Regions from separate parts of the Homo sapiens genome. Here region 2 is linked to region 1. Evidence: promoter capture Hi-C in 16 types of primary human blood cells and fetal thymus (Javierre and others, 2016). All regions are on one chromosome and are shown on one strand. Each heading gives the region's core, a stretch centred on a gene start or on the middle of the fragment in contact. The rest is flanking DNA. Distances are from core to core; before and after follow the strand shown. Region 1 holds the start of IL1RN (interleukin 1 receptor antagonist). Region 2 holds the start of IL1A (interleukin 1 alpha).

Evidence for each region. The method cuts DNA at HindIII sites, captures the fragments that hold promoters and counts their contacts. A CHiCAGO score of 5 or more calls a contact.
Region 2: a contact is called between the fragment with the promoter of IL1A here and a fragment that was not itself captured in region 1, in 2 of 17 cell types (M1 macrophages and neutrophils). The highest score is 5.8, in M1 macrophages.

Annotation. Positions count from the first base shown.
Region 1 is chr2:113,124,065-113,130,722 of GRCh38, reverse strand. It overlaps IL1RN (interleukin 1 receptor antagonist), which reads right to left and starts at 3,125. Exons shown (of 4, transcript NM_173842.3): 1 at 2,983-3,125; 2 at 1,059-1,147. The coding sequence starts at 3,098. RefSeq lists an enhancer at 6,220-6,289. The HindIII fragment of the contact is 5,902 bases long and covers 600-6,501 here.
Region 2 is chr2:112,781,779-112,788,436 of GRCh38, reverse strand. IL1A (interleukin 1 alpha) reads left to right here and starts at 3,944. Exons shown (of 7, transcript NM_000575.5): 1 at 3,944-3,994; 2 at 4,659-4,713; 3 at 5,673-5,721; 4 at 6,611-6,658. The coding sequence starts at 4,667. The HindIII fragment of the contact is 4,198 bases long and covers 2,511-6,658 here.

The DNA of each region.
Region 1 (6,658 bases), core at 2,301-4,800:
TTTCCCTCACTTTCCCCAGGATGCACACTACCCAGTTACTCCTAGAGGCCTGAGTCTCCTGGATGTTGTTCCATGTGATGTCCATATTTCCCTCACTTTCCCCAGGATGCACACTACCCAGTTACTCCTAGAGGCCTGAGTCTCCTGGATGTTGTTCCATGTGATGTCCATATTTCCCTCACTTTCCCCAGGATACCTGTGCTCCAGGTCAATAGGAGTGTTGCTGAGGGGCAGGGAAAATGAACAAGGCCATGAGTGGGGCTCCACAGGAGCCTAGGAGTCTCTGAACCTCCTCTCTCCCTAAGAGGCCTCCATGCTCTCATGTAGCAACAAAAATCTCAGCTTCCTCGTGCTTCAGTGTGTTCATTAGGAGAACTACCAGGACAGGAATTGTAGGTCTCATCCACTTTCAGAGCGAGGCACAGGAGACAGAACCAGGGCATAGGGAAGGTGGGAAGGTGGAGGTAATACCATCCTACAACAACAAACAGGGGAGTGAAAACATCCTGGAAGGCTGGAACTAAAAGAATCGCACATCCTGTTGTCCAGTTGATATCATCCCACTGAAGGGAAAGCTGAGGAACAGAGTGGGTGAAGCTTCTTCAAGGTCATCCAGCTTGTTTAATGTGTGGACCAGAATATGGCTGAGTATGGTGTCCAGGAATAAGAGACATAGCTCAACCTTATACATGGTGGATTAATTTGGGATTGAGTTAGGGTTTGAACAACATAGGAACATGGAGCCTTAATAGGCACTTGAGGAAGGGAATGGTCAACCTTGCCTTCTGGTATTTGCCCTTCCCAGCTGTGGCCCTGGGACCACTGTGCCTATAGGCACTGACCTCTGACCTAGACTCTACCTCTCCACACCCTCTTCAGGCTGCCCTCATATGTGCCCTTCAGTAGCCAGGCCCTCCCAGCTTCAAACTTGAATACAAAGACCCAACAAGGATTAGGACATTGCACCTAGGGTTTGTGCAGGCAGGCCATGCTGCTGCAGACAGACGGGCAAAGTGACGTGATGCCCACATACATTGGCTTTCCTGGCAACCACTCACCTTCTAAATTGACATTTGGTCCTTGCAAGTATCCAGCAACTAGTTGGTTGTTCCTCAGATAGAAGGTCTTCTGGTTAACATCCCAGATTCTGAAAAGGAAAAGGACTCAGCTGTAGTGCACAGCCACCATGTGCCCAGCCTTGTGCTTGGCACCTTCCTGTGTCCCCCAGAACTTGTCAAATTTGCATCCAGCTCTTCCAGGGGTATAGTATTTTAGTATACCCACGGCATGCATGGATGAGAAGACTGAGGCTGACAATGGTTAAGAGGCAGGCCCAACCCTCACAGCTGGTGAGCAGTGAGCCCACATTTGACTCCCCTCCTTACTTGCTTCCCATCTGAGATTCCCAGGGAAGGCACTTCTGTTTCAGCAAAGCATGCTGTAGAGCAGCAACATCCAAAAGAACTTTCTGGGATGCAAAAATGTTCTGTAGCTGCACTGCCCAATAGGGTGGCCACTAACCACATGTGGCTATTGACCTCTTTAAATGTGGATAGTGTGACCAAGGGTCTGGATTTTAAATTTTCTTCTATTTTCATTCATTTAAGTATAAATTTAAATAGCCACCTGAGACTAGTGGCTACCATAGCACCTAGGTAGAAGTTTCAAGAGACGGAACACCTTGCAGCTAACTCGCTCTGAGTCTGAGACCAGAAGGGTCTTTCCCTAGAGCCTTTCCTCCATTAGCTGGTGACCTGCTCAGAGTCCTGCAGGAGCAGCTACCCTTGGGAACAACCCGGCTTCCTCTCTACCTCAGCCAGTGACCTGATTCTGGGTCCCAATCCTTTCTTCTTGGTAAAGGGCCTCTCTGGTTGAGAGCAGGACTCAAAGCTGTGAGACGTAATAAACAGAGCTCTGGCCAGCCTGACCTGGGACCTGTGCCTCACCTCTTCACCTGTGAAGTGTGGCTAACTGTACCCACCTCATCAGGTGGCTCTGAAGAGCCCACATGCTCGACGAGGGGTGGCCAGGCAAACCAAAGTGCTTTGCATATGGCAGCATTGGCCTGTTTGTGATTATCCTAGTTTCTAGATTTAGCCTCAGTCTGGAGGGATAAACATCACCTGCTGGGGCCTCCAGGAGGATCTCCTGGAGCTTCTAGCTGATCAGAGCAGGGAGAGGCAACCTAGGGAAGCAGACAGTCCCCATATCTGGAAGGGAGAGACTTGTCACTCATACACCCACAGAGCCCGACTTGCAGCCTCGGCCCAGACAAACATAAAGGTCAGAGTGGGGGAGAAGTCACCCCAACATGATTTCACTGCTGGAATGTCACACTGCAGAGGGCATGCACAAGCAGTCCTGTCATTTCTATCAGCATCACATCTTTACAATAGTGATGGTCTCACAAAGCCGATTCCATTTTCAAATCATAATGGTTTTCAGGCTCTTTACAATGCACGGAATACTGTTACGCTATTATCTGTGCATTTAATTTTCACAACAACCCTGTAAGGCACACAAGGAGTTATCGTGACTCTCATGTCACAGATGTCACAGACGGGGAAACCAAGGTCCCTGGAGAGTGGGACCCTCCGACATGTCAGCACAGACAGGCCTTGCCCATATCAGTCTGGGCCTTCGGGCTGTGCCCCTGGTGCCCCTCTCTGCTTCTCTGTCAGCACATTCAACTAGGCCTGAATCGCAGTCCCACTCCTTGGCATGCATCTATTACTCACTGGGTTCCTGAGTCTCTGGGAAAGTAAGACAGCCCTCCGGTCGCACTATCCACATCTGGGATATTTTGAAACACAAGTCCTGAAGCCCATGCATGTAACAGCCTCTTTCTTGAATAATGGACATCCTCTCCAGCCCAAACCCAGTTCTCAGGCCCTCTGGGGCCTGGCAGCCCCTGGCAGCTGTGATATGTTTCCAGTCTCCAGCTGATCCACCCTCACCTTCTCCTCCTTGGGGTAGCCTTACCTGAAGGCTTGCATCTTGCTGGATTTTCTCCCAGAGGGTCGGCAGATCGTCTCTGAATGGAACAGGAAGAGGAGGAGAGTGATTAGGTGACTGCGGAGGCCTCTGCAGATTTCCATTCTGTGACTGCAGCAAGGCAGTGGACTGCCATTGCGGGCCCAGAGTTGTGGTTTATAAAGAAATAGTCACTCACCCAAGCTAGGCGTCTGCCACCCTGCCCCACTGCGAGAAGCGGAAATACCCTCCTCGCATTTCCAAAAAGAGAAACCCTTGCTGTTGTCACTTTCAACCCCACTAAGTGTCGCAATGGAGTGTTGTAACTGATTCCCTCCCCTTTTTCCCCTGTGCAATTTCCCCAAAATTAAGATTTCTATTTCCCCTTCATTGAGTTCCTGGGAAGAAGAGCACAATGGAAACCAAACTCCCTACTGTTCCTGACAGGTACCCAGAGTCTGTTTGTTGACTTTTTAAAAAACAGATTTGAGCAGAAAGGCCGTTTTTTCATAATAAAATGATAGGGCTCCCTGCACATGGGACAGTCTCATGTCACTTTGTGTTCTTTGAAAAATGGACAGCCTTGGACTCCGGACCATAGATTGGCAAACATTCTGTAAAGGACGAGATAGTAAATATTTTAGGTTTTGTGCGCCACGATTACTCAGCTCAGCTGTCTGTTTCACAAAAGGACGTTGGCAATCCATAAATCAATAAGCCTAGCTGTGTTCCACTACAACTTTCTTTGCAAAAGCGGGGAATGGACCGGATTTGGCCTGAGTCTGCTGACCCCTGATGTAAAGTGAGTCCTTCTGAGAGGTGCTTTGAAATCAACTCTTTTCCCACTATCTTACATCTTTAAAGTTATGGTCTCGGGACGATGACATAAACTCAGCATTTGGACAGGAATGGGTCTAAATTCAACCTCTGCCACTTGCCTTGTGCCACCCGTGTGACCTTGAACAAATCATTTCATTAGTTGAGCCTCTGTCTCTTCACTCTCAGAATGAGGGTGATCATGTCTTCTTCACAAATGGATGGAAGGAAGGAAGGGAAAGAGGGAGGGAGGGAGGGAGGAAGCAGGTGTAGGAAGGAAGAGGAGAACTTCTGGCCCATAATGGGCTCTGATACACATTAACTTCCTTACTTACAATATTCTAGACCCGGGGCCTGGAACATTAGGAAAAAGGTAAGCATGCTCCTATTTTATGGGTAGGAAAAAGTTGAAGAGAATTTCTGCATGATCTACAGGATGGACAGTGCTGGTGCAGAAGCATACGTTGCAGTGTTTTAGAGCTGGACGGGAGCTTGGCAATCATCCTGTCCCAACCTGGCATTGTTTTCAAGAAGACTCAGAAAGATTTAGACAAAAAAGGGATCTGTCCAAGGTCACACAGCTTGCTGATGGCAAAAGTATGCAGAGAAATCCAGGTCTTCTGACCTCCAGCCCCGGGCTTTATTAACAAATGCTTCAGAAACTTTAAACCCTAATATTCATCACACTCTGGGAAGAGGCAAATAAGTAGGCAGGTTAATATACATCACCCCCTTCAGCTAGTCCTCACAAAAACAAACAAATAAACAAAAAAAATGTCTCCTTGGCCCTCAAAGGAAGACACTATTTCTCAAACGTGTTTCAAAAATGATGGCTGGGCTGGGCACGGTGGCTCACACCTGTAATCCCAGCACTTGGGGAGGCTGAGGTGGGCGGATCACCTGAGGTCAGGAGTTCAAGACCAACCTGACCAACATGGTGAAACTCCGTCTCTACTGAAAATGCAAAAATTAGCAGGGATGGTGGCATGTGCCTGTAATCCCAGCTACTCGGGAGGCTGAGGCAGGAGGATCACTTGAACCCAGGAGATGGAGGTCGCAGTGAGCCAAGATCACGCCACCGCACTCCAGCCTAGGCAACAGAGTAAGACTCCATCTCCAAAACAAAAACAAACAAAAAAGTATGAATGACTCACTCAAGGTGATGCAGCTTGTGAGGGCAGCACAGGAATACAGACAAAATGTCAAAATATTTACTACTACAGCAGTTGATCTTGATGAGTCTATTTTCAACCAACAAATCAGAATCTTTCTCTCAACCAACACATCTTCCAACCAACAAATCAGAATCAAACACTTTGTGTCCAGAGAGTTAATCCTTCAAAGGAGGAAGACTATGAATGAATTTCCCAAAGGTTTAAAGAATGTATCCTTCAGAGGAAATAGAACATTTCTGCAAAATTGTGTCACCTCCCTGGGTGATGGATTTTTTCAGGCAAAATGGCATGTCTGTATTCCTGTACTGTCCTCATAAACAGTGTGACCTTGAGTGAGTCACCCATCCTTTTTGAAACACGTTCAAGAAACAGTGTCTTCCTATGAGGGCCAAAGAAGAATTTTGTTTATTCATTTGTTTGTTTTTGTGAGGACTAGCTGAAGGAGATGATGTATATGAACCTGTCTACTTATTTGCCTCTTCCAGAGTGTGTTGAATATTAGCGTTTAAAATTTCCAAAGTATTTGCTAATAATCAAGTGTATCACTTTATTCTCACACTCTCTGAAAGAGAAGGCAGCTAGCACCTGACTATGATAGGTTCTCTCCTATTTGTCTTTCTTCAACCCTCCGGAATTGGAAGACCATAATTCTCTCAACAATGTCCTTACAGATTGCAGAAGAGAAGTGGCTTGCCAAGGTAGGGTGGAGAGTTCCATCCTGGCCACTGCCTTCAGACAGCGTTTCAAGTAAAAAGCCCCACCCACACTGCGGCTCCTGGGTAAATGTTTCTCTGACCCCAGTCTGAATTCAGAGAGTATTCTCCTGGAGAAAAGACGCTCGGGGCTCCTGGAACCTCCCTGCTCTGTGTCATTTCCCCGCTGTGTCCTGAGAAGTGGCCCAGTCTGTCCTTTGTCGACATGCACAGGGTGAGGGTGGGGGTGGTCCCTGGGGCAGGAGTTATGGAGTCTAGGTCTGAATCCCCCTGTGTCATTACCCCACACAATGTGCAGAGCCTGTCTTGGTCTCAGTTTCATTATCTGATAGAGCTAATAATAGAAGCCACATCATCGGTTACTATAAGGATTGAATGAAATGCTGCACGTGATGAATCATGCCCTGACCCTGGCACTTGGGAAATACTCACACCGTGGCTTTTGCATATGCTTCTTTACCCCAGGTAAAGTGGGAGAGATCAGGCACAATGAATGCCCCAGCCCCTTGCTCCTGCCCTGCACTCCCAGCCTTCCTGCTCTGTATCCTGACCCACCCTCCTTTCCCAGTCCAGTCTCAAGCCTGCTCTGACTCCAAAGGGGGGGGGCTGTCAATCACTGTGGCTTAGGGAGAGGAAGAAAGGGGACAAGGGAAGCTCTCTCCCTCTTCCTCACGCTTCTGGCCACAAGTCCACTCTTGGTTTCGTCTTATCTCACCCAAACAGTTGGCGTCCTTATGATTTCTGCCCACAGGAAATCTCTGACTAATCTTATTCTCGGTTCTGGGTCCTCAGCACCCCCCGAGTTCTGCTTCCTGGATGAAGCTTTAAGACCATAGCACATAAAAGACAATGCCTTCCCAATCAGCACCCATGGCTTTCATCGGAGGTCCTGGTCATCAAATTGTATCTAGTGGCTTCCATGTGCTGAGCCCTGTGCTACTAGACACTAGAGACAACAGGAGTGTCTAAGCCCCACGTAAA
Region 2 (6,658 bases), core at 2,695-5,194, 340 kb after region 1:
CCTCAGGCGATCCACCCACCTCAGCCTCCCAAAGTGCTGTGATTACAGGCATGAGCCACGGCACCCAGCCACTCCTTTTTTACTTATGGGTGAGAAGCCATTAGAGATTATTTCTTCTTTTCTTTCTCTCTTCACTAAGGCACCAGGGTCACTAAGTAGTAGGATACTTTGAACTAGAACTCAAGAAATTGAGTTTTAATTTTACCTCACACTCTCATATGAATTCTCCATGTGACCTCGGGCCATACTTCCCCTGTACCCTGTTTCCTCTTTTATAAAAGTAAGAGTTTAAACTAGATGGTCTCCGACATGCATCCTTCTCTAACATATTCTGGAACCTTCAATAAACTAAGATAAAGCAGAATAATTAAAACTTAATTTAAAAGAACACAGGAAAGGAAGCAGCTACATTAAGCAAAAGAGACATCCTCATGGTTGAAGAAGTGTATGCCCTGGTGTCTGGATCCCATTTAGGAAACTTGGTAACCTTGCAATCTTGGGCAGATTGCTTAATTTCTCTAGACCATGACTTCCTCTTCTGTAAGATGTGATAAGAACATCTACCTCACAGGTTTCATGAGAGGATTAAATGAGATAATGTATTATAATCCCTTGAACATGGTAGGCTGTTATGTTAAGTCCTTTCCTCCTTCTCTGTAGCTATCATGGAATTTAAAAACACATTATAACTAGAGCATGAGTTGCGACTAAAGGCTCAATTGTCTCTGCATGTGTTGGCTCATGCATGCTTTATTCCTCTGAAGAGCTTTTATACCAAGTGAAAGGAAATAATTGCATTTCCCTGAAAATTCACAGGAAAAAGTTATGTTTTTCTCTTCATTCAAGTGATTCTGTTAGACCCAACCACATGCAACAATTTTAAAGTTGCTTCCAAATATATTTACAAATATTTCCTGTCTTCAAGGAACAATGGCAAGACCATGACTCAGGTTCACATCCGGATTCCACCACTAACCATGTACCCAATTACTTCAGTCACCTTCATTCAGGTCTTACATATCACAGAATAAAATCAGATTTCATCAGAGGAGGTGAAGACAGGGAGAGGAGATATTTCAATCCCTTCTCCGCAACCCCCGTTTTTTTTTTTTTTTTAACAAGGATCCTAGAGTTACTGAATGATAGCACGTTTGAGGGGGAAAGACCCTAAGGATGATCTTTATAAGCCATCACTTGGTGTTGGTGGTGATAAGAGACTCGAGTATCTTTATGCAGTGGAAAGAGAAGATTGGACTCGGAATCAGAAGCTTGAGTTCAAGCACTGGTTTCATCAGTCTTGTGATCTTGGGTTGGTCACTTAACCTCTTCAAGGGTCCTCAGCTGTGAAAGAGGATAGTATCAGCTAATTCTTGTAGGTGCAGTGAGGAGGCAGTGAGATAGTGCAGGTAAACTATAAAACAATTGTCACATGAAACGCATCACAGTGATTCTTTGGACCCACAAGCTCCAATCTTATAAAACATATCCAGTCACCCACCAACATAGATCATCTCACCTTGCATATCTGATTTTGTGGATCATGGGGAAAAACTGCTGATTCCTAGCAAAACCCATGGCATAGGATAAGTGCACAATAATTTTTTTTTCCTAAATGATTTAGATGACAGTGACTCATTAAGGGTTTCCTGAGGCCTCCTCAGAGTCGAGAGGTGGGTGCCTGAAGCCACCCAAAGTCCCTGTCACAGGATGGCTCCCAACGCACACACCACAGGCCTGCCCAGTATGTTCCACTATCTACCCAGTAGAGCCCTGCCCAGTACGTTCCACTGTCCCTTCCCTAGAAGAGGTGACTGTTGTTCACAGTCCCAGAAAAGCGGGCTCCCCAAAACAATGCAAGGACCCACCTCTCTCTGAACCTCACCCACCCTAGTTTTCCTTTAAAAATCAATTTACAAGAAGATCATGTGAAGGAAAAGGTTGGGTGATATTCTAACCCAAGTTAGCTGTTTCTCAACCAAGTTCTCTTTGAAAAATTCAACAACCACCTTTGGGGAATTATTTACAACAGAGGAGTGAGGATGGGACCAGGATAGGTATTGCCTATGTTGGTGGAACCAGGGTTTTTTTCCTGGATTACCAAAGAGATGGTATGCATTGCTCCCAGAAGCTAAATATCTTCAGGCTTTCAATGGTGGCCTTCACCTGAAAATGTTATCCCTGTTGAAGCTTTCAAGCCAGTATTTTCATAAGAACTATATTTTCTTTGGTGAACTGAGGCATTATAATGATGACTATACAGGTTCTTGAGTGACTGAAGCCATCATTAGCATTGTCATTATTTTTGTTTAGTTGCATCTCCATAGCAGCTCACATTCACAATGTGCTTTGCAATTGTTCCTTAGCAATAGCCCTCACAAGATTCTCAGGAGGAGAGGGTTAATCAGGATTAACATTTCTGTGTTGCCTAAAGAGGAACCAAGGTAAGCAGAAATGTAGCCAGTTGGCTGGCATCACTGTTGCTTCAGGATTCATCCTTAGACACCCAAGCTTCTACCCTAGTCTGGTGCTACACTTACATTGCTTACATCCAAGTGTGGTTATTTCTGTGGCTCCTGTTATAACTATTATAGCACCAGGTCTATGACCAGGAGAATTAGACTGGCATTAAATCAGAATAAGAGATTTTGCACCTGCAATAGACCTTATGACACCTAACCAACCCCATTATTTACAATTAAACAGGAACAGAGGGAATACTTTATCCAACTCACACAAGCTGCTTTCCTCCCAGATCCATGCTTTTTTGCGTTTATTATTTTTTAGAGATGGGGGCTTCACTATGTTGCCCACACTGGACTAAAACTCTGGGCCTCAAGTGATTGTCCTGCCTCAGCCTCCTGAATAGCTGGGACTACAGGGGCATGCCATCACACCTAGTTCATTTCCTCTATTTAAAATATACATGGCTTAAACTCCAACTGGGAACCCAAAACATTCATTTGCTAAGAGTCTGGTGTTCTACCACCTGAACTAGGCTGGCCACAGGAATTATAAAAGCTGAGAAATTCTTTAATAATAGTAACCAGGCAACACCATTGAAGGCTCATATGTAAAAATCCATGCCTTCCTTTCTCCCAATCTCCATTCCCAAACTTAGCCACTGGCTTCTGGCTGAGGCCTTACGCATACCTCCCGGGGCTTGCACACACCTTCTTCTACAGAAGACACACCTTGGGCATATCCTACAGAAGACCAGGCTTCTCTCTGGTCCTTGGTAGAGGGCTACTTTACTGTAACAGGGCCAGGGTGGAGAGTTCTCTCCTGAAGCTCCATCCCCTCTATAGGAAATGTGTTGACAATATTCAGAAGAGTAAGAGGATCAAGACTTCTTTGTGCTCAAATACCACTGTTCTCTTCTCTACCCTGCCCTAACCAGGAGCTTGTCACCCCAAACTCTGAGGTGATTTATGCCTTAATCAAGCAAACTTCCCTCTTCAGAAAAGATGGCTCATTTTCCCTCAAAAGTTGCCAGGAGCTGCCAAGTATTCTGCCAATTCACCCTGGAGCACAATCAACAAATTCAGCCAGAACACAACTACAGCTACTATTAGAACTATTATTATTAATAAATTCCTCTCCAAATCTAGCCCCTTGACTTCGGATTTCACGATTTCTCCCTTCCTCCTAGAAACTTGATAAGTTTCCCGCGCTTCCCTTTTTCTAAGACTACATGTTTGTCATCTTATAAAGCAAAGGGGTGAATAAATGAACCAAATCAATAACTTCTGGAATATCTGCAAACAACAATAATATCAGCTATGCCATCTTTCACTATTTTAGCCAGTATCGAGTTGAATGAACATAGAAAAATACAAAACTGAATTCTTCCCTGTAAATTCCCCGTTTTGACGACGCACTTGTAGCCACGTAGCCACGCCTACTTAAGACAATTACAAAAGGCGAAGAAGACTGACTCAGGCTTAAGCTGCCAGCCAGAGAGGGAGTCATTTCATTGGCGTTTGAGTCAGCAAAGGTATTGTCCTCACATCTCTGGCTATTAAAGTATTTTCTGTTGTTGTTTTTCTCTTTGGCTGTTTTCTCTCACATTGCCTTCTCTAAAGCTACAGCCTCTCCTTTCTTTTCTTGTCCCTCCCTGGTTTGGTATGTGACCTAGAATTACAGTCAGATTTCAGAAAATGATTCTCTCATTTTGCTGATAAGGACTGATTCGTTATACTGAGGGACAGCAGAACTAGTTTCCTATGAGGGCATGGGTGAATACAACTGAGGCTTCTCATGGGAGGGAATCTCTACTATCCAAAATTATTAGGAGAAAATTGAAAATTTCCAACTCTGTCTCTCTCTTACCTCTGTGTAAGGCAAATACCTTATTCTTGTGGTGTTTTTGTAACCTCTTCAAACTTTCATTGATTGAATGCCTGTTCTGGCAATACATTAGGTTGGGCACATAAGGAATACCAACATAAATAAAACATTCTAAAAGAAGTTTACGATCTAATAAAGGAGACAGGTACATAGCAAACTAATTCAAAGGAGCTAGAAGATGGAGAAAATGCTGAATGTGGACTAAGTCATTCAACAAAGTTTTCAGGAAGCACAAAGAGGAGGGGCTCCCCTCACAGATATCTGGATTAGAGGCTGGCTGAGCTGATGGTGGCTGGTGTTCTCTGTTGCAGAAGTCAAGATGGCCAAAGTTCCAGACATGTTTGAAGACCTGAAGAACTGTTACAGGTAAGGAATAAGATTTATCTCTTGTGATTTAATGAGGGTTTCAAGGCTCACCAGAATCCAGCTAGGCATAACAGTGGCCAGCATGGGGGCAGGCCGGCAGAGGTTGTAGAGATGTGTACTAGTCCTGAAGTCAGAGCAGGTTCAGAGAAGACCCAGAAAAACTAAGCATTCAGCATGTTAAACTGAGATTACATTGGCAGGGAGACCGCCATTTTAGAAAAATTATTTTTGAGGTCTGCTGAGCCCTACATGAATATCAGCATCAACTTAGACACAGCCTCTGTTGAGATCACATGCCCTGATATAAGAATGGGTTTTACTGGTCCATTCTCAGGAAAACTTGATCTCATTCAGGAACAGGAAATGGCTCCACAGCAAGCTGGGCATGTGAACTCACATATGCAGGCAAATCTCACTCAGATGTAGAAGAAAGGTAAATGAACACAAAGATAAAATTACGGAACATATTAAACTAACATGATGTTTCCATTATCTGTAGTAAATACTAACACAAACTAGGCTGTCAAAATTTTGCCTGGATATTTTACTAAGTATAAATTATGAAATCTGTTTTAGTGAATACATGAAAGTAATGTGTAACATATAATCTATTTGGTTAAAATAAAAAGGAAGTGCTTCAAAACCTTTCTTTTCTCTAAAGGAGCTTAACATTCTTCCCTGAACTTCAATTAAAGCTCTTCAATTTGTTAGCCAAGTCCAATTTTTACAGATAAAGCACAGGTAAAGCTCAAAGCCTGTCTTGATGACTACTAATTCCAGATTAGTAAGATATGAATTACTCTACCTATGTGTATGTGTAGAAGTCCTTAAATTTCAAAGATGACAGTAATGGCCATGTGTATGTGTGTGACCCACAACTATCATGGTCATTAAAGTACATTGGCCAGAGACCACACTGAAATAACAACAATTACATTCTCATCATCTTATTTTGACAGTGAAAATGAAGAAGACAGTTCCTCCATTGATCATCTGTCTCTGAATCAGGTAAGCAAATGACTGTAATTCTCATGGGACTGCTATTCTTACACAGTGGTTTCTTCATCCAAAGAGAACAGCAATGACTTGAATCTTCAATACTTTTGTTTTACCCTCACTAGAGGTCCAGAGACCTGTCTTTCATTATAAGTGAGACCAGCTGCCTCTCTAAACTAATAGTTGATGTGCATTGGCTTCTCCCAGAACAGAGCAGAACCATCCCAAATCCCTGAGAACTGGAGTCTCCTGGGGCAGGCTTCATCAGGATGTTAGTTATGCCATCCTGAGAAAGGCCCCGCAGGCCGCTTCACCAGGTGTCTGTCTCCTAACGTGATGTGTTGTGGTTGTCTTCTCTGACACCAGCATCAGAGGTTAGAGAAAGTCTCCAAACATGAAGCTGAGAGAGAGGAAGCAAGCCAGTTGAAAGTGAGAAGTCTACAGCCACTCATCAATCTGTGTTATTGTGTTTGGAGACCACAAATAGACACTATAAGTACTGCCTAGTATGTCTTCAGTACTGGCTTTAAAAGCTGTCCCCAAAGGAGTATTTCTAAAATATTTTGAGCATTGTTAAGCAGATTTTTAACCTCCTGAGAGGGAACTAATTGGAAAGCTACCACTCACTACAATCATTGTTAACCTATTTAGTTACAACATCTCATTTTTGAGCATGCAAATAAATGAAAAAGTCTTCCTAAAAAAATCATCTTTTTATCCTGGAAGGAGGAAGGAAGGTGAGACAAAAGGGAGAGAGGGAGGGAAGCCTAATGAAACACCAGTTACCTAAGACCAGAATGGAGATCCTCCTCACTACCTCTGTTGAATACAGCACCTACTGAAAGAACTTTCATTCCCTGACCATGAACAGCCTCTCAGCTTCTGTTTTCCTTCCTCACAGAAATCCTTCTATCATGTAAGCTATGGCCCACTCCATGAAGGCTGCATG